Linked DNA regions of Homo sapiens: region 1 is linked to region 2. Evidence: promoter capture Hi-C in 16 types of primary human blood cells and fetal thymus (Javierre and others, 2016). All regions are on one chromosome and are shown on one strand. Each heading gives the region's core, a stretch centred on a gene start or on the middle of the fragment in contact. The rest is flanking DNA. Distances are from core to core; before and after follow the strand shown.

What was found. The method cuts DNA at HindIII sites, captures the fragments that hold promoters and counts their contacts. A CHiCAGO score of 5 or more calls a contact.
Region 1: a contact is called between a fragment that was not itself captured here and the fragment with the promoter of PNPLA4 in region 2, in 5 of 17 cell types (endothelial precursors, fetal thymus, naive CD8 T cells and 2 more). The highest score is 15.2, in endothelial precursors.

What each region holds. Positions count from the first base shown.
Region 1 is chrX:4,548,271-4,552,710 of GRCh38, reverse strand. No RefSeq gene overlaps it. Among named protein-coding and RNA genes, the nearest start is that of FAM239C, 610 kb to the right of the region's middle. The HindIII fragment of the contact is 5,259 bases long and covers 1-4,133 here.
Region 2 is chrX:7,924,884-7,929,815 of GRCh38, reverse strand. PNPLA4 (patatin like domain 4, phospholipase and triacylglycerol lipase) reads left to right here and starts at 2,403. Exons shown (of 7, transcript NM_004650.3): 1 at 2,403-2,530; 2 at 3,684-3,876. The coding sequence starts at 3,697. It overlaps LOC107985675 (a long non-coding RNA gene), which reads right to left and starts at 2,316. Exons shown (of 5, transcript XR_001755784.2): 1 at 403-2,316. RefSeq lists enhancers at 1,796-1,875, 2,216-2,265, 2,286-2,525, 2,756-2,985, 3,648-3,697 and a silencer at 3,674-3,968. The HindIII fragment of the contact is 3,086 bases long and covers 1,775-4,860 here.

The DNA.
Region 1 (4,440 bases), core at 255-2,754, 3.4 Mb after region 2:
GGAGTTTGGCTGGGGATGGTCAGAGAGGACATCAGCCATGTAACAGCCAAACTCCAGGGGAAGATTATCTTCCCACTCCATCCGCTTTCCAGCTCCTCATCCATCTCACTGATAGCCACCTCCATCTGGCAATAAAATCCCCTGCATTTACTATTCTTCAGTTTGTCTGTGTGTCCTGATTTTTCCTAGATGCCAGACAAGAACCTGGGTACCAAGAGGGCACTGAGCTGGTTAACACTTAAGTGGTCTGTGGATGGCAGAGCTAAAAGAGCACTGTAACACACCCACTGGGACTTCAGGAGTTGCAGGCACCCACCCCTAGAAGCTACCATGGAGTCAGAGCCCAAAAGCACTTGCTCCAGCTCCTGCGTCTGCCTGTCTGTGTGATTCCCCTTCCACAAGGGGTTTGAGCCAAGGCAGCAGGACAGACATGCCACACCCCTGTTACACGTCCTGCAGGGTAGGTCAGGGAACTCTCCTGTTTCAGTAGTACTTGCATATTTAGTTTTGTAAGAAGCCACCGCTCTGTTTTCCTGTGCTTGTACCATTCTGCGTTCCCACCAACAACATATGAGGGTTCTCTGCTATTCCCCCTCCTCACTGACGCTTCATATCATTAGGGTTTTGTTTTAGTATTTTTGTTCTTGTATGTTGATTTAAATTTTAGACATTCACACTCATGCGTGGTAACATTTCCCTGTGGTAGTAATTTGCATTTCCTTATGGACTAAAGATGTTGAGCATCTTTTCATGAGCCTATATTCTGTAACATCTTTGGTAAAGTCTCTATTCAAACAACTTGCCAATTTTTTAATTGGATTGTTGGTTTGGTGTACCAGACTGTGCATTTCTTAAAACGGAATTTTTTAAATGGGCTTGATTGAATGATTGCCATGGAGTACAGGAAGTCCCTGTGCAACTCTCAAGCAGTTCCTCTCATTATTAACATCTAATGTGGCTGTGCTGTACTTGTCAAAACTAAGAATCCGACATCATTGACACAGCACTCCTAAGTACACTTCAGACCTTTGGTCAGATTCCACCGGCTTTTTATGAACTTTTTTTTTTTTTCTGTCTCAGGATCCCATTGAGGGATCACACTGCACTTACTTGTCACCCCTCCCCCATGTCCTGTCTGTGGCCCTTTCTCAGACTTCCCTTGCTTTTTCATGACAGTCTTGAGTACTGTTCAAGTAGTCTGTGGAATATTTCCCATGCCACATTTGTCTCCTGTTTGTCTTATCATTAGAGTGGGGTTAGGGAATGTTGGGAACAAATACCACAGAGGTAAAGTGCCCTTCTCATCCCCTCACCAGCATAGAGGGATAGATAGATAATAAATAGATAGATAGATAGATAGATAGATAGATACATACATACATACATACATACATAGGTAATAGATACATGAGACATAGATAAATGATAGATGATAGATGATAGAAGATACATAGATACATGGTAGATTTTATAGATAGATATAGATATATATAACATACTATATTATATTAAAAACAAAAAATATTGCTAATTAATGTTATAAAATATATATTATATATTATATATTTAAATATATTATACATGACATAATATAGAATATAAGGTATAAAATTGTACATAATATATGTATAACTATATATAGTATACACAATGAATTATATACAATTATATTCATATTATATGATTGTGTACAGTTGACCCTTGAACAGGGCGAGGCTTAGGGGCACCAATCCCCTGTATGGTTAAAAGTTCACATATAGGCTGGGCACGGTGGCTCACGCCTGTAATCCCAGCACTTTAGGAGGACAAGGTGGGCAGGTCGCTTCAGGTCAGGAGTTCAAGACCAGCCTGGGCAACATGGTGAAACCCATCTCTACTAACAATACAAAAATTAGTCAGGCATGGTGGTGTATGCCTGTAGTCCCAGCTTACTCAGGATGCTGAGGCAGGAAAATCACTTGATCCCGGGAGGGGGAGGTTGCAGTGAGCTGAGACTGTGCCACTGCACTCCAGCCTGGGTGACAGAGTGAGACTCCGTCTCAAAAATAGTTCACATATAGCTTTTAATTCCACCAAAACTTAGCTAGCAGCCTACTGAAATCCACTGATAAGTGGATCCCCATAGTTTAAACTCATGTTGTTCCAGGGTCAGCTGTGTATATTGTATATAATACTCATTATATATAGTATAACACATAATAAAACTATTATTATTATTTTCTTAAGGCTACAGAGGATCTTCAGCTGCACAGGATTTCCTGCAACTGAAGACTTTTGTTCCACCTGCAAACTGCAAACCAGGAGTGACTTCCCATCAAGAACTATGAAGAGTCTGGGAGTATATCCTGTTTGCAAGTTAATAAAATAGCTTGCTGCAATGCTGCCATTCTATGGATGCTGGCAGAAGACACAGAACTTTTAGGTCTAAGACTAGAGACTTGTTTCCAGCAAAGCCATTGCCAGAGCATCAGCTTCTTTTTCTCAGGACCACAAGGGGGTGCTGAGGATGAACTTGGATGGGAACCTACACCTGCTATGGGCTGCCTTATAGGAGGGAGATACAGAGCCTGGGAAAAGTCGGCCACTTCATAACCCCCGATAAGCAGAGCCTGCTCTTTGTCCTGGAGGAAGATGTCACCTGCTCCTTCAAGGTCGAACATGTAGTAGAGCCACAACCCTGAGAAATACTCTAGGGAAAGAGTGGTCAGCACCTGGCATTCTTACTTAGCACACCCATAAGATATGGAGGACAAGAGACTCATGGAGAAGAGTCTCTGCCACTACTGTTCAACTCTCCCAAGACATCATCTTGGGGGCTTTTTCAGTTCCCTCAACTTGTCCCCAGTCTTCCTAGTAGGTAACAGGTAAAGTTTGTGAAGACTCGGTGACAGCTGCAAATTCCTCTTGTGGCTGCATCTCCCAGAGGTCCTACAACTTTATGCTAGTCCACTGTCAGCCTCAGCAAGCCCTTTAAGACTTTCTCCACATGTGTCTTATCCATTTGTGTGTTTTCTGTGTCTGTTCAAGGTAAGATGTACACACATCCCATCTCACCTTAGAAACGCCTGCCTTTCCTTGTATTTCAGCCTGATTGTTTGCACTATATATTCGTCAGGGTTCCCCAGAGGGAAAGAACTAATAGGTTCTATGTCTATATGAAAGGGAGTTTATTAGGGAGAATTGGCTCACACCATCACAAGGTGACACCCCACCATAGGCCATCTGCAAGCTGGGAAAGACAGAAACTGGTAGTGGCTTATTCCAAGTCCAACAGCTTCAAAAGCAGAGAAACTGACAGTTCAGCCTTCAGTCTGTGGCCAAAGGCCCAAGAGCCCCCGGCAAACCACTGGTGTAAGTACAAGAGTCCAAAAACCAGCCAGGCACGGTGGCTTACACCTGTAATCCCAGCACTTTGGGAGGCCAAGGCAGGTGGATTGCTTGAGGTCAGAGCCCAGAGTTCAAGACCAGCCTGGCCAACATGATGAAACCCTGTCTCTATTAAAAATACAAAAATTAGTCTGGTGTAGTGGTGGGTGCCTGTAATCCCAGTTACTTGGGAGGCTGAGTCAGGAGAATTGCTTGAACCCAGAAGGCAGAGGTTGTAGTGAGCCAAGATCACACCACTGCACTCCAGCCTGGGCGATGGAGTGAGACCCTATCTCAAATAATAATAATAATAATAATAAATAATAAATAATAAATAAATAAGAGTCCAAAAGCCAAAGAACCTGGAGTCTCATGTCCAAGGGCAGGAGGAACAGAGTGAAGCATCCAACATGGGAGAGAGATGAAAGCCAGAAGACCCAGCAAGCCAGCTTCTCCCACCTTCTAACCATCTGCTTTGCTTTAGCCACACTGGTAGCCAATTAGATGGTGCCCATCCACACTGAGGGTGGGTCTTCCTCTCCCACCCCACCGACTCAATGTCAATCTCCTCTGGCAACACCCTCACAGACACACCCAGAAACAATACTTTATCAGCTGTCTAGGCGTCCCTCAATAGTTGACACCTAATATTACCCACCATACCCTAAAACTGGAGTTTTCTGACAGATTCAAGAAACTTTAGATTTAGTTTATGATGTGTCCTTGATTTTGCCGTGATTGTTGGAGCGATGATCTTCTTACAAGCTTTCTACATCCTAAGTTTAAGCTAGAAGGCTAAACTTTTTATTTTGTAAAGAAGGGCTTCAAGTTGATCTGTTTAAACACTAAGTTTAAATTGCTGGCTTTCAGTAAAATGTTCAAATGCGTTTTTTAAAGATAGACATATCCTTTAAAATAATTAGTCTGAGTGAAGTTGTAGTTTCTGTCCATAAATTTATTATATGTCAGGAATATTTATTAACATGGAGAAGGGGATAGAGACCAAGCTGATGGGTAGGTGACCTTAGATCTAGCACCGGAGGTGGAAGAACAACTTACAGAAAGAACTGAAAG
Region 2 (4,932 bases), core at 1,154-3,653:
TGGTAATTTACATAAATCCAACATCCAAAACAAATATTTATTGATCATATACTATGGGCCAAGTGCTAAGCTTGGCGATGAGATGACAAAGACAAATGTGAATGAATATATCCTTCCTTACATTAGAAAGCTGAACTTTTTTTGTTTTTTGTTTTTTCTTTAGAGATGAGGTCTCACTACATTGCTCTGGCTGAAGATGAACTCCTAGGTTCAAGCAATCCTCCCACCTCAGCTTCCTGAGTGGCTGAGACTACAGGCACATGCCACCTCACCCAGCTGAGAGCTGAACTTTTAACTAGTTACATGGAGATATGATACGGGATTGAAGGGAGTAAGGAGGAAATAAATTTAAAATTTTAAGAGTTAAATTATGGAGCATTTTGCTGCTCCAAAGAGACTTACCTTTGGTGAGCTCTCACTCTGCCAGCCAGGTGTAGAAATAGTGGATGCCCTTATCTTTCCTTTAAGTGAAAGATATCAAAGTTGTGGTGTTCATCCAGGCTGCCCGGTGATAAAGTTTTCACCTGTCTCCTGAATCGACCTGCTGACAGTGTCCAAATGCAGGAAATAACTTGCTCTGTAAACAGCATCCCAGATTCTGGTTCTGTAAATCCAGTCTCTCCTTAAACTTCTGATGCCACCACATCACTTTAAACCAGACCACCTGTCTTAATCCATTCAGGCTGCTATAATAAAGTAGCATTGACTGAGTGTTTATAAAAGAAATTTATTTCTCACAGTTCTGGAAGATGGAAGTCTGAGATCAAGGTGCCAAGATGGTCAGGTTCTGAGGAGGGCCCTTTTCCAGTTTGCAGATTGCCATCTTCTCCGTGTACTTTTATCCTTACATGGTGGAAAGAGACCTCTCTGGGGTCCCTTTTCTAAGAGTACTAATCCCATTCATGAGGGCTTCACCCTCATGACTTAATTACCTCCCAAAGGCCCCACCTCCTAATACTATCACCTTGGGGGTTAGTATTTCAATATGTGAATTTTGGAGGTATACATGCAAACAATAACACCACCAAAGGAGTTAGACCACTGCTTCAGGATTCTGTTAAAACGCAGATGCCGACTCAGATCAGAGATGGGACCTGGGATCCTTCCTTTCTCATGAGCTTCCTGGAAGATGCAGTTCTGGGGAGGATCACACTCGACCTTAAAGAGCTAGAAGATTGTGGAAGGTTTAAGGACTGGAGTGTGTCCTGTATTTTCCTAATGTACGTTGTGCCTTCCCTTCACTAAATTCCGGTAGAGGTAAAGAATTCTGAGTAATGCAGTCATTCTACGATAAGGCAATAAGGTGTTTCAGGATCAATTTTCTCTAAAGAATAGTTATGTGAATTAAAAACATCTTCCCTAATCGTCACATCAAGGACTCACAGGTGTTGTTGGCCAGAGACGATACACCAAAACAGAAAGAAAAAGCCCAAACCAGAGGCAATTTGGAGAGCTCCACCCCTCCTCCCTGTTTTGTCTAAGGTAGAGACATTCTCGCAGACGCTCCTTTGTAGCCTCAGAGAAAGTAAATCTCTGCCCTTAAACTAGGGGACCTGGAGAGCCTTCAATCACGAAGTCAGGGATTCCTCCAGGCTTGGTTATTAGGATTAGATAAGGAAAACACCGTTTGGGGAGAGAAAGAATTATCAGAGTCCTTTAAATCTTGGTGGGCATGGCAGGCATCTTGGCGGTCGTTGAAGCTGCTTAAGTCTGAGCCAAAGGTGCCAGAGGACAAAACAGCCACCTGCTCACGGCCCCCTATGTGGAAAAAGCTTTCCAATTTAGCTCTCTCATTTTAGCATCTCAATCTGCACATAAGGCACGCGGGAAACTCAGAGAGGTTATGCTACCTGCTCAAGGTCACACAGCCTAAGGTCAACTGAGGATATGAAAGTTCCCCAGAGTCATAGTCCAGCTTTTCCTTTAGATAGCACTTCTTAAAAAAACCAAAGGCACGCCTTGAAAAGCTGCGGGATGTCCAGCCCCAAAATAGCCGCTGGAGTTGGCCCCTAGGGGCAGCTGGACCGCCCAGGCGGGCGAAAGGGTGGAGAGGGAGAAGAACCACTTCCGGGAAACAGACGCGAAGAGGGTAAGGCACTTCCGGGGCACAGAAAATGAGGATTATTAAAGGTCAGTTGCTCGCAGGTAAGGGCCAAGTAGCGTTAAAAGACACGTAAGGATTACAACGCCTCTCTAGGGTGTGGGTTAAAATGTCTCTCTAGGTACTCGAAGATAACATGACTCTAAACGAGGAATCCTTGCCTGCGCTGGAGGACGCTCCGGTCTAGCGGCCAGGTTGAGTCCAGAAGTTTAAATAGAGCAGGCGGGGCCTAGCGGGCGCCTTCGTCGGCGCGATGACGTCACATACCTGCGCGGGAGGCGGTACCAACCCCTGCCGCAGGACTTTCCTGGGCCGGCTCGCGGAGAGCGTAGCGCGGCCTTGGTGGCGGAATGGCGTTGAGTGACGGCCCGGCCCCGCCATCTGGTTAAAGGGACTCGTTCAACACGGAAGTGTCCCGGGGCTGCATTGGTACGGAGCCCTGGGGCCCAGCAAGGGTGTGCTCCTGCGGGACTGATGCGGGGACCACCCCGGCCCTGCCGGCCTCCAAGCCGCGGGAGGGCACTGAGCCTGTGCTGGCTGGGCCTGGCCGCCTGGTTGCTACACACCCAACCCCCTTCCCGTCCCCATTTGCAGAAGTGGAATCAAAACTGGGGCTTGACCCCGGATCGATGACTGGGACTCAGCCTACGCGGACGCCAGCGCAGCCTGCGGCGGCCGAGCCACCTGCCCTCACAGGGCCTGGCCGGGTGCATCAGGAACAGGCGGTCTTAGGTCCCTAAATTCGAGGCCCTGTAATGTGCCTCATCTTGGGGTCCCTGAATGGGGCCCTTGGGCCCCCAAGGAAACCCTGAGACCTTCAGAATGGACAGCCTTGTGGAGGCACAATTTCATTCACTTGGGCAAATTGTGCGCACTGAGGCATAGGAAAACATGTAATTTTGTATTTAGATGTGTTCCAAGTATAAAGTGGCGTGGCTGACATTTCATAGAGCCTTAAATTGCCTTCACCAGGCATGACCTCAGTTTGTGTTGAGATACTTGGCAAAGAAATGTATTGCATTGTTGAGTGATTGCTTATTGCGTTACTGAGTAATTGTATTGGCGTTCATAAAAGCATGGGTGCTCACAATAGAAATTGGGAAGGGGAGTAGGGAACTGTATTTGAAATCTTCTGATACACTTACCAAGAACAAATGTATTGTTCATTTGGAATTTGATACGGTCTCTAATAATTTTCTGTTTCATAATGGTAGTGCCGCCCCCACCCGCAAAACGTTTCAAAGGGTCAAGAGAAAAGACCAAATGCCCTTGTCAACTGGAATTTATACGTCTGTTTCCTGCCAAGTAATTAAATCGTAGATTCATAATCTATGTACCGAATAAATGTGGAATGTTTTTGTTTTGTTTTGTTTTAATGTATAAGACTTGGGTCAAGGTGAGGAGGGAAAGAAAGGGTTTCCTTGAAAGATTCTTGTGTTTAATTAGAATTAATTGAAACCACTGTGCTTAAAACAGAGAATGATGTTAGAAGAAAGCCTTGGAACGATGATCAACATAAGACTACACAGTATGTGGGATAAACTATTCCAACTTACAGCATTTTTGTTTTTTGTATTGCCAGTGCTACAGCTAGAATGAAGCACATCAACCTATCATTTGCAGCGTGTGGATTTCTGGGCATTTACCACTTGGGGGCAGCATCTGCACTTTGCAGACATGGCAAAAAACTTGTGAAGGATGTCAAAGCCTTCGCTGGGGCGTCTGCGGGATCGTTGGTTGCTTCTGTTCTGCTAACAGCACCAGAAAAAATAGAGGTAATTAAGTAGTAACTTAGGCTGTGTTCCTCATCAAGAAATTAAGACCCAAAGGCAAACACCAGCATTGACTCTACTAAGTTAACACTGCAGAGAAATAATCGTTTGCTTGGAAACAGAAAGGATTAGGACTTTTCTCTTAAGATGTAATTATTAGGGATCTGTGCTCTGGTTGTGGAAAAGATTATTTTGGGTGATAGTGAAATAAGGAAATAAAATGACTTATATTACTCTTGAGTTTTTATTTATCCTTAAGATTCCAGCTCTGTTCCTTTCAAGCAAAGGATATTTCTTCTTTCTATGATCATGAGAAGAGCATGGGGCCTGTTTTCAAGGCCTTGAACATGTGGGCAACAAGTCTTACCTCACTGCTACTTAGAAATAGATACATAAATTAAAATGTGGGCATGCAGTTTCTATTAAGTGGAATGGTATAGGAATTTAATTCTTTTTTAATTCTCACAGTAAGAGGAAGCTCTGAGTTCCAAGCAATTTATCCAGAAGTAATACAAATAATTATTCATTAAGTACTTTATTTAATGCAATCTATGTTTTAAAATCTGTTTTCTGCTATCCAGACAGTGATCAATCATTTGCTGACTGTGAGAGCTGGATTCCGTAGTTGGAGAATATTATATTTGTTAATCATTACGTACTCTAGCAGCTTTGAACAATAATGAAATAACAATTTAACACCCTCATACCCAAGAATGAATTTCAGTCACATTTAAAATTCCAAAACTATGCAATGTTAAACATCAGAATCTCATTTCAGATCTTTTGTGAGCTGCTTATCAAAGGGAAGCTAGATTTGAGGCCAATCATTCAGAAATCCACCTATCTTCCTGTCTTTATATGGTTGATTTACAGGGAACTAGAAAAGTGATTTAAAAACTGCAGAGATTAAACAGGACCAGAACCTTAAGCCATGCAAGGTATAAATGAGGTCGGAAAATTCCCCCTAAACTAGCAGATTCATAAGCTTTGAATTACAAGCTACCTCCTTCCCATAACTGTGTTTCGTTTTTGAAGCAGAGGGCTTTCAGGGTGTCACTT